Linked DNA regions of Homo sapiens: region 1 is linked to region 2. Evidence: promoter capture Hi-C in human tissues and cell types (Jung and others, 2019). All regions are on one chromosome and are shown on one strand. The core of a region is centred on a gene start or on the middle of the fragment in contact, and the rest is flanking DNA. Distances in the headings are between cores, read along the strand shown. Region 1 holds the start of ARHGAP39 (Rho GTPase activating protein 39). Region 2 holds the start of TONSL (tonsoku like, DNA repair protein).

What was found. The method cuts DNA at HindIII sites, captures the fragments that hold promoters and counts their contacts. A contact is called where the count stands out against the background at its distance.
Region 1: a contact is called between the fragment with the promoter of ARHGAP39 here and the fragment with the promoter of TONSL in region 2, in 3 of the 25 tissues and cell types used here (dorsolateral prefrontal cortex, heart right ventricle and mesenchymal stem cells).

The regions. Positions count from the first base shown.
Region 1 is chr8:144,682,976-144,687,239 of GRCh38, reverse strand. ARHGAP39 (Rho GTPase activating protein 39) reads left to right here and starts at 1,394. Exons shown (of 12, transcript NM_025251.3): 1 at 1,394-1,554. RefSeq lists enhancers at 1,077-1,688, 2,302-2,914, 2,915-3,527. The HindIII fragment of the contact is 13,771 bases long and covers 1-4,264 here.
Region 2 is chr8:144,442,147-144,446,543 of GRCh38, reverse strand. It overlaps TONSL (tonsoku like, DNA repair protein), which reads left to right and starts at 2,104. Exons shown (of 26, transcript NM_013432.5): 1 at 2,104-2,154; 2 at 2,269-2,364; 3 at 2,520-2,662; 4 at 3,223-3,406; 5 at 3,738-3,867; 6 at 4,132-4,303; 7 at 4,393-4,397. The coding sequence starts at 2,130. RefSeq lists silencers at 1,509-1,648, 1,689-2,458 and an enhancer at 2,704-3,212. The HindIII fragment of the contact is 9,197 bases long and covers 1-4,397 here.

The DNA.
Region 1 (4,264 bases), core at 145-2,644, 240 kb before region 2:
TGGTCACGGGGGTGGGAAATGGTCGCCGCCAGTGTGTGGTCACGGGGGTGGGAAGTGCTCGCCGCCAGTGTGTGGTCACGGGGGTGGGAAATGCTCGCCGCCAGTGCGTGGTCACGGGGGTGGGAAATGGTCGCCGCCAGTGTGTGGTCACGGGGTGGGAAGTGCTCGCCGCCAGTGCGTGGTCACGGGGGTGGGAAGTGCTCGCCGCCAGTGCGTGGTCACGGGGGTGGGAAATGGTCGCCGCCAGTGTGTGGTCACGGGGGTGGGAAGTGCTCGCCGCCAGTGCGTGGTCACAGGGGTGGGAAATGGTCGCCGCCAGTGTGTGGTCACGGGGGTGGGAAGTGCTCGCCGCCAGTGTGTTGTCACAAGTTTAAGGTGAAGGCAGTCAGCCTGGATGTGTGATTTTCTTCAGCAGTCATGGAGGAGAAGGGTTGGGCTCGCCCAGTTGGGTTTTCTAAGTGAATACAGTGGAGAGGGAGCGGGAGGCGAAAAAGCAGAGCCCTGTGTATAAGAGTGAAGAGTGAAGTGTGACGACGGCCCAACAGGGAAGCGCGGGCGGCGAGACAGCCCGACGGGAGATCTCCTGAGGCGGGAGAGTCCCTGCAAGGCGACTGAGCTGCAGGGCAGGAGGTGGAGCTCCACGGATGACTTTTGACGGGGGCCTTTCAGCCCTTTGCGGCTTCTCACAGTTGAGGACCCAGGGAATGTCCAGGACTGAAGGGTGTGCGCCCCTGTCTTCTACTATCGAAGCTTCAGGCTGTTTAGCCTCCGTTTCTCCAGAAATGCCAGTCAGATTCAATTTCCAGAAACGCACCTGGCACTAAGAGAATCTAGAAAACCAGGCTGAACGCAGATTAGAAAACGCCGAATAGAGCACTAGTCGAGCTGCAGCTGAGTGAATTACCGAGTAAAAGTGACAGGACTAAAAAGGTGAGAATAACAGGAGGTGAAGAGACACGAGCCCGCCACAAGAAGGACTGAGGAACAGGGCAGCCCACGTTTTGAGAAGAATGGCTGTATTTCTAGAGTCGAAGAAAAGTGAAATCTCAGACTCGGGAAGCCCAACGTGGTTTGAGAGGGCAAAATTACACCAAACCACACCGAGACGTGTCAGATGGTAACTGCTCTGCACCGAAAGAGACGGGAAGACACCGCTAACTCACAGGGTAGGTCCGCGCGGGAGGCCTCTGGCGCGGCGACGGGGCGGGGCCAGGCGGCTCCCAGCATGCCGCGCGCGCCCTCCGCGGGACTCCGGCTCCCGGCATGCCGCGCGCCAGCGCATGCGTGATGCGGCCTCGCGAGGCAGTGCCCCCTGGCGGCGGGTAGTGACCGCCGCGGGGGCGGAGCCGGAGGCGGGGGGTTGCGCTTGGTGACGGGAGGACGCGCGGCCGCCGCGCACTGGGCCGGCGGCGGCGGCGGAGGACGCCGACAGCACGGGCTGCCGCGGCAGCAGCGGCGGAGCAGCAGAGAGGCCGGGGAGCGGCGGCTGGCTCACGCGCGTCGCGCGGGCCGGGATGAGGGACTGTGGCGGCGCGGCCCGCGCGCAGCCGGCCGGTGAGAGCGCGGGCAACGGGCGGTGGGCGGCGCGGGCCAAGAAGATGGCGGAGGGGCCGGCGCTGCGGTCCCCGTGGTCCTGGCCCAGCCTCGGCGGAGGCTCCAGGCCCGGCAGCGCAAGGAATCCAGGCCCGCGGCGACTGCAGCGGCGGGAGGGGCTGTGACTGGGCCGTGGAGGGAGGGGGCGTGGGTGTGCGGGGCCCGGCCGGGCGGGGGGCGCGGAGGCTCGAGGGGCCGAGGCCGCGCGGGGCCCGGGTGCGCGCCGACGGGCCGGGCTGGGAGTGTGAGGGTGGGTGAGTTCGCGTGTGCCCGGCCCGAAGTGGGTGTGACTGTACCCTGTCCAGAGTGAGTTGTGTCCCTGCCCTAGGTGGGTGTGAGTGTGCCCGGCCCCAATGTGGGTGTGGGTGTGCCCCTGTCCAGAGTGAGTGTGAGTGTGCCCCTGTCCACGGTGGGTATGAGTGTGCCCGGCCCGAGGGGAGTGTGGGTGTGTCCGGCCCCAGGGGGGTGTGAGTGTGCTCCTGCCCGAGGGAGGTGTGAGTGTGCCCGGCCCTAGATGGGTGTGAGTGTGCCCCTGCCCGAGGGGGGTGTGAGGGGACCCCGCCCGTGGTGGGTGTGGGTGCACGTGTGCCCAGCCTGAGCTCGGGGCACCGGCCGCATTCCCGGGCGCCGTCGGAGTGGGGACAAGGTGGATGCCCGCCGGTCGGGTCTGGTGCCCGCGTCCTGAAGGGCGGCCCGGGTGCAGGGCTGCGGTGCGCTGCGGTGCAGCCTCGGGCTTTGTCCCCGGGGCGCAGGGAGCGGACATGGGCGTCTCCAGGTGGGGTCATGGCCGCCTGCGGGTGGGCTCTGCGGCCTCGCCTCTGCGGCAGGCGCGGGCTGGGGCTCCGGCGCTCGGAGCCTTCCCCTCCCGGTTGCCCCCCGAGCTGGAATTCCCTCGGTTGCTTCCCGGTTGCTTCCCAGTTGCTGGAGTGCTGTGGGTGGAGGCGGCGTTCCGTGCCCAGGGCGGCGAGAGAGGCGGGCTGTGCATTTTGGGGCCCAGGACGTTTTTTATTTTAAAACGTGCAGCCGGCTCCTTGGCAGCTGTGGGTGTGTTCCGAGCCGCTTCCCACCAGCAGCTGCTGTGGGCGCTGCGCAGCTTCGGAAACGCAGCCGGGCCCCCTCCCCCTCAGTGCTGTACGGGTTTAACCAGACCTCCAGTGACCTCTGCTGAAAAACCTACAGTGGTGAGGCTTCTCGTGCCTCCTGGTACAACAATACGGAGATTTGTCTTTTGAAGCCAGTGAGGGGAATTGGACGCTGCGTCCTAGGTGCCCTCTATAGACAGCAGGTGGTTCCGTCGGCGGCGCCCGATCCACAAGGAGCAAGGTGCGATTCTCGCGCCGGGGGAGGGAAAGGCGATTTGATAGGAGGTGTGGCTGTAAATCGAGGAGACTCATTCCATAAACCGCCCTGGGCGCAGGCTCTGTAGCCATAAATGCTTGGAGTGAATGAATGGGGGTGGCGCCTCGCTCCCTGCACTTGGTGTAGCCAGCTGTCTTCCTGAGAGGCAGGGGAGCAGAGTGGACAGGAGGGCGGGTTCTGGAGCCAGGCTGCCCGCCTCTGAGTCGCGACTCTTCTGTTTACTGGCTTTGTGGTCTTCGGCAAGGTCTCTGTGCCTTTGGCTTCTCATCTGTAAAATGGGAACACTAATAATATTGGCCTCATAGGGTTGTTGTGAGGACTCAGTAAATTAAGACTTGTGAAACACTTTGTTCGTGGCACACTGTGTTTTAGAAAGTTAGGAATGGTTATTACTGCCAAGATCTGGTGCTTCCGGGGTGCATGTGCTGGGTCAGTGGGTCTTCAGTTTCTCCAGCACTGCCAATGTAATGTAAACTGGAAGTTTACATTAAGCTGGAAGTCTGTGGCGCTGGTTTCTCACACAAGAAAGCTGAGGTCATATTTGGATGAACACATGTTTATAAAGGTAAAAGAGAGACAAGCCTCACATACTTAGATGAATTATTATATAAGATTGTTTTAAGACGTTCTTAGAGAAAAATGGCCAGGTGCGGTGGCTCACACCTGTAATGCCAGCACTTTGGGAAGCTGGGGCGAGCAGATCGCTTGAGGTCAGGAGTTCAAGATCAGCCTAACCAACATGGTGAAACCCCGTCTCTACTAAAAATACAAAAATTAGCTGGGTGTGGTGGCTCACGCCTGTAGTCCTAGCTACTGGGGAGGCTGAGACAGAGAATCGCTTGAACCCAGGAGGCGGAGCTTGCAGTGAGCCAAGATTGTGCCACTGCACTCCAGCCTGGGTGACAGAGCGAGACTCTGTCTCAAAAAAAAAAAAAGAATATTTTATTTTATTTTATTTTTATTTTTAATTTTTGAGACAGAGTCTCGCTCTGTCGCCCAGGCTAGAGTGCAGTGGCACTATCTTGGCTCACTGCAAGCTCTGCCTCCTGGGTTCATGCCATTCTCCTGCCTCAGCCTCCCGAGTAGCTGGGACTACAGGCTCCTGTCACCACGCCTGGCTAATTTTTTGTATTTTTAGTAGAGACGGGGTTTTACTGTGTTAGCCAGGATAGTCTCGATCTCCTGACCTCATGATCCGCCCGCCTCGGCCTCCCAAAGTGCTGGGATTACAGGTGTGAGCCACCGCGCCCAGCCAGTTTTTGCTTGTTTTTGAGACAGGGTCTCACTCTGCTGGCCAGGCTGGAGTGCAGTG
Region 2 (4,397 bases), core at 855-3,354:
CACCCAGGCCTGCCTGGATTTCCTGCCTCCTGCAGCTTGTGACTGCACAGGTGTGCAGGCTTGGCCTGGTCCCACCCCTGCAGCCTTGGAGGCACCGAGGCCCAAATCTGCCCAGTCCAGGGGCCACGCCAGGAGGCCAGCGCTCTGCCGTCAGCCTGAGGAGGGCTCCAGCAGCCTTTACTGGACCCAGGGACCTGTCAGTGCATCACACCACTCTCTCCCCAACAGATCTCTCTGGCTGAGTTTTGCCCAACGACTTGCTGTAATTACGATGGAAATTAACTCATCTATCTTCCACTCCTGAGGCTCCTCAGTTGGACTCTGTGCACCCAGCCTCCTCTGGGGCCTCTGGGAAACCAGCCACTGCACCTGAGTGCAGTGCTGGGTGTGCTGTGTAGCCGGGAGTCAGATACCCAAGGCATGGCAGGTGTTTGGTCCTCAAGGTAATGGGGGATAGCAAGGGTATTTTAGAGGCCTGGGTGCCCCATGTCACAGGATTCTAGACATAATTTTGCAGTTGTTTTCTCTCTTTCTTCCTTTTTTTTTTTTTTTTTGAGACAAGAGTCTCGCTCTGTTGCCCAGGCTGGAGTGCAGTGGCGCCATCTCCGCTCACTGCAAGCTCTGCCTCCCGGGTTTACGCCATTCTCCTGCCTCAGCCTCCCCAGTAGCTGGGACTACAGACACCCGCCACCACGCCCGGCTAATTTTTTGTATTTTTAGTAGAGATGGGGTTTCACCGTGTTAGCCAGGATGGTCTCGATCCACTGACCCCATGATCTGCCTGCCTCAGCCTCCCAAAGTGCTGGGATTACAGGGGTGAGCCATTGCGCCCGGCCCTCTCTTTCTTCCTTTCTTTCTTTTCCTCCCTCCCTCCCTTTCTTTTTTTTAAATAAAGATGGGGTATCGGGCTGGGCATGGTGGCTTACACCTGTAATACCGGCACTTTGGGAGGCCGAGGTGGGCGGATCACAAGGTCAGGAGTTTGAAACCAGCCTGGCCAGCATGGTGAAACCCCGTCTCTACTAAAATGCAAAAATTAGCCGGGCATGCTGGCACGCGCCTGTAGTCCCAGCTACTTGGAAGGCTGAGGCAGGAAAATCGCTTGAACTCGGGAGGCGGAGGTTGTGGTGAGCCGAGATCACACCATTGCACGCCAGCCTGGGTGACAGAACGAGACTCCGTCTCACACACACACACACACGAAAGATGGGGCCTCACTATGTTGCCCAGGCTGGTCTCGTACTGCTAGGCTCAAGCGATCCTCCTGACCGGGCCTCCCATAGCGCTCGGATTACAGTGCGGGCCACTGTGCCCGGGCTACTTCTGCAGCTGAAGCACAGGTTCACTGACTCTTCCGAGAATACAGCTGGCATACACATTGCTGAAACAATACTTGTTCACTATGGAAAGCACATTCCCCTCCCAAAACAGTCCTTGGGGCCGAGTCCCCAAATGTGACCCAGCTGCGTTCTGCGGAGGAGGAGCGCGCCTGACACCTTATTACGTCCCCACAGCCAAATGCTCGTGAATTTATCGTCAGTCTATCTGGACACTACGTTCGTTTTTAATAGTTGCGCCTGTGAGCAGGCTGTGTGTGTGAATTTCGGGAGGAATTGGGGCGGCGGCACAGCTCGTCCACCATGAGTAGCGCGGGCGGCACGGGGGCTGCAGCCCAGAAGACCCCACCCAGGGCGCGCTGCGACCCCGGACGGGCTGGCTCCGGGCCCCCGGCCTCCCGCGTCCCCGCCGCCTACGAGGAGGAACGGGGTCCCCACCAGGCACTCCCCGGGCCGGGCAGAGGGCTCCACGCGCGGGCCAACCCGGCGTCCGGGAAGACGGCCCCTAGGGTGGGACGCCCCAGTTGTCGCCGCCACCCCGCCCCAGCTCCTCCCGCACGAGAACTCCGAGGATGCCGCGGGCGGGCCGACCGTACTTCCCGGAATGCCCCGCGCCCGCCGCCGCCGTCGAGGGGCGGGGCCTGCGTGTCGGCGGCGAGGGGCGGGGCCTGCGTGTCGGCGGCGAGGGGCGGGGCCTGCGTGTCGGCGGCGAGGGGCGGGGCCTGCGTGTCGGCGGCGAGGGGCGGGGCCGCGGCGCAGCGCGGGAAGTCCGGATCCCGCGGCGATCCGAGCATGAGCCTGGAGCGCGAGCTTCGCCGTAAGTTCCTCGGGGACCCCTTCCTCCGGGGGCGCGGAGGCTGGGGAGGGCTTGGGACTCGGCCCCGGCCCCGGACCCCGCCGCGGAGGCCCAGCCCTCCTCTTCCTCCCACAGAGCTGAGCAAGGCGAAAGCCAAGGCGCAGAGGGCCGGGCAGCGGCGCGAAGAGGCCGCGCTGTGCCACCAGCTGGGGGAGCTCCTGGCCGGCCATGGTGAGCGCCGGGACCAGGAGGCGGGAGGCAGGGCCGGGGCCCGGGCCCGGGCCGGGATCGGGGGCCGGGGGGCGACGGGCTCTTCCGGCAGACGCCGCCCCAGGGCCGCCCTCGCACCCGCGACGCCTGCCAGGCCGTGCTGTGCCCCCGCCTAGGCCGCTACGCCGAGGCTCTGGAGCAGCACTGGCAGGAGCTGCAGCTTCGGGAGCGCGCTGACGACCCTCTGGGCTGTGCCGTGGCCCACCGCAAGATCGGAGAGCGCCTGGCCGAGATGGAGGACTACCCGGCTGCCTTGCAGGTGCGGGCGCCCTCACTGGCCTCGTCCAGCCCGGTCGGCCTCTGGAGCCCTTTTCTGAGGAGGGAGGCCTGGTCTTCGCCGTCAGGAGCCTCGGGCTGGAGGGGACACCTGACCTGACGCAGCCTTGCCTTCACCGCCCCGGGCCAGTCCTCCGGTGGGGACCCCACAGCCTTTCCTGGGACTGGGGCAGGAGTAGGTTTCCTGGCACCAGAAACCATTACTGAACGTTATTTTAGCTGTGTTTGTGTTGGGGGAGGTCAGGCCCCATCCCAAAAGCTCTCCCTGACCCTGGCTGCTGGAGGCAGGACTGCAACCCCCCCGCCAACTCCCAGCTGCCCCTCCCCACGTGACAGCGTTGGCTGCATACAGCGTGAAGCCACTGTCACCACAGAGAGCCCTTGGCATGCAGAGGAGGGGCACGTGTCTGGCCTTGGCCTGCTCTGTGGGGGTTAGGGGGAGCAGGCTCTTTCCTTAGCAAGAACAGGGTCTCTGGGAATCTGGCGGTGCCGGTTTGCTTGAGGCGGAGTCGGCTCACAGCAGTGACTTCCTTCCACACTCAGCACCAGCACCAGTACCTGGAGCTGGCACATTCCCTGCGCAACCACACGGAGCTGCAGAGGGCCTGGGCCACCATCGGCCGCACCCACCTGGACATCTATGACCACTGCCAGTCGAGGGATGCTTTGCTGCAGGCACAGGCTGCCTTTGAGAAGAGCTTGGCTATTGTGGATGAGGAGCTGGAGGGTGGGCAGACCCCTCCGCGTTTTCTGCCTCCTGAACTTCGGGCCGAAGAGGCTGCAGCCCAGCACCCCCGCAGCCTCCTTGGGCAATCCCGTCTTCTGGAGCCCTCCCTTTGCAAGGCTCTTGTGTGAGGGGTGCATGCCCCGCTCAACCTTTCCCCTGGAGATCGTCAGCTCTTTATCCACTCTGTGCTCCATCTGCCGCAGGACACTTGCACCCACCTCGGGAGGAGGGAGGGGGTAGGAGAGGCGCTGCACAGGCCCCAAATGGGGCCCAAAGCTGGAAACCCCATGTGGGGAGGAAGTGGCTGAGTGTTTGGGGGGGTATCTTCCAGGGACACTGGCCCAGGGAGAGCTGAATGAGATGAGGACCCGCCTCTATCTCAACCTGGGCCTCACCTTTGAGAGCCTGCAGCAGACAGCCCTGTGCAACGATTACTTCAGGAAGAGCATCTTCCTTGCGGAGTAAGGCCCTGCCCCGCCCCAGGAGGGAGTGGAGTCCCTTGTTCCTGGAGGAAGTAGTTAGGGGAGTATTTTTCCCAGAGTCCTCCTGAGAGAGCAGTCTGGCTGGGCCTCATCCCCCCACCTCTCACACCTGTGCCACACACTGGGAGAAGGCCAGGCATGGTTAGGGCCCTGAGACCACAGCATGGCAGGGCTGGGGCCCGTGTGGCATCAGCAGCTGTCATGGACACTCCTGGGTGCTCAGTGGTCGTCACCCCTCTGCAGGCAGAACCACCTTTACGAGGACCTATTCCGCGCCCGCTACAACCTGGGCACCATCCACTGGCGCGCGGGCCAGCACTCCCAGGCTATGCGCTGCTTGGAGGGTGCCCGGGAGTGTGCGCACACCATGAGGAAGCGGTTCATGGAGAGCGAGTGCTGCGTGGTTATTGCACAGGTACCCGCTGTGCGTGGCTCCGAGCTCAGGCTCTCGTAGATTCGGGCCTTGGGGATTCTGCAAAACCTTTGCTGTCCTTTGCTCTCCAGGTCCT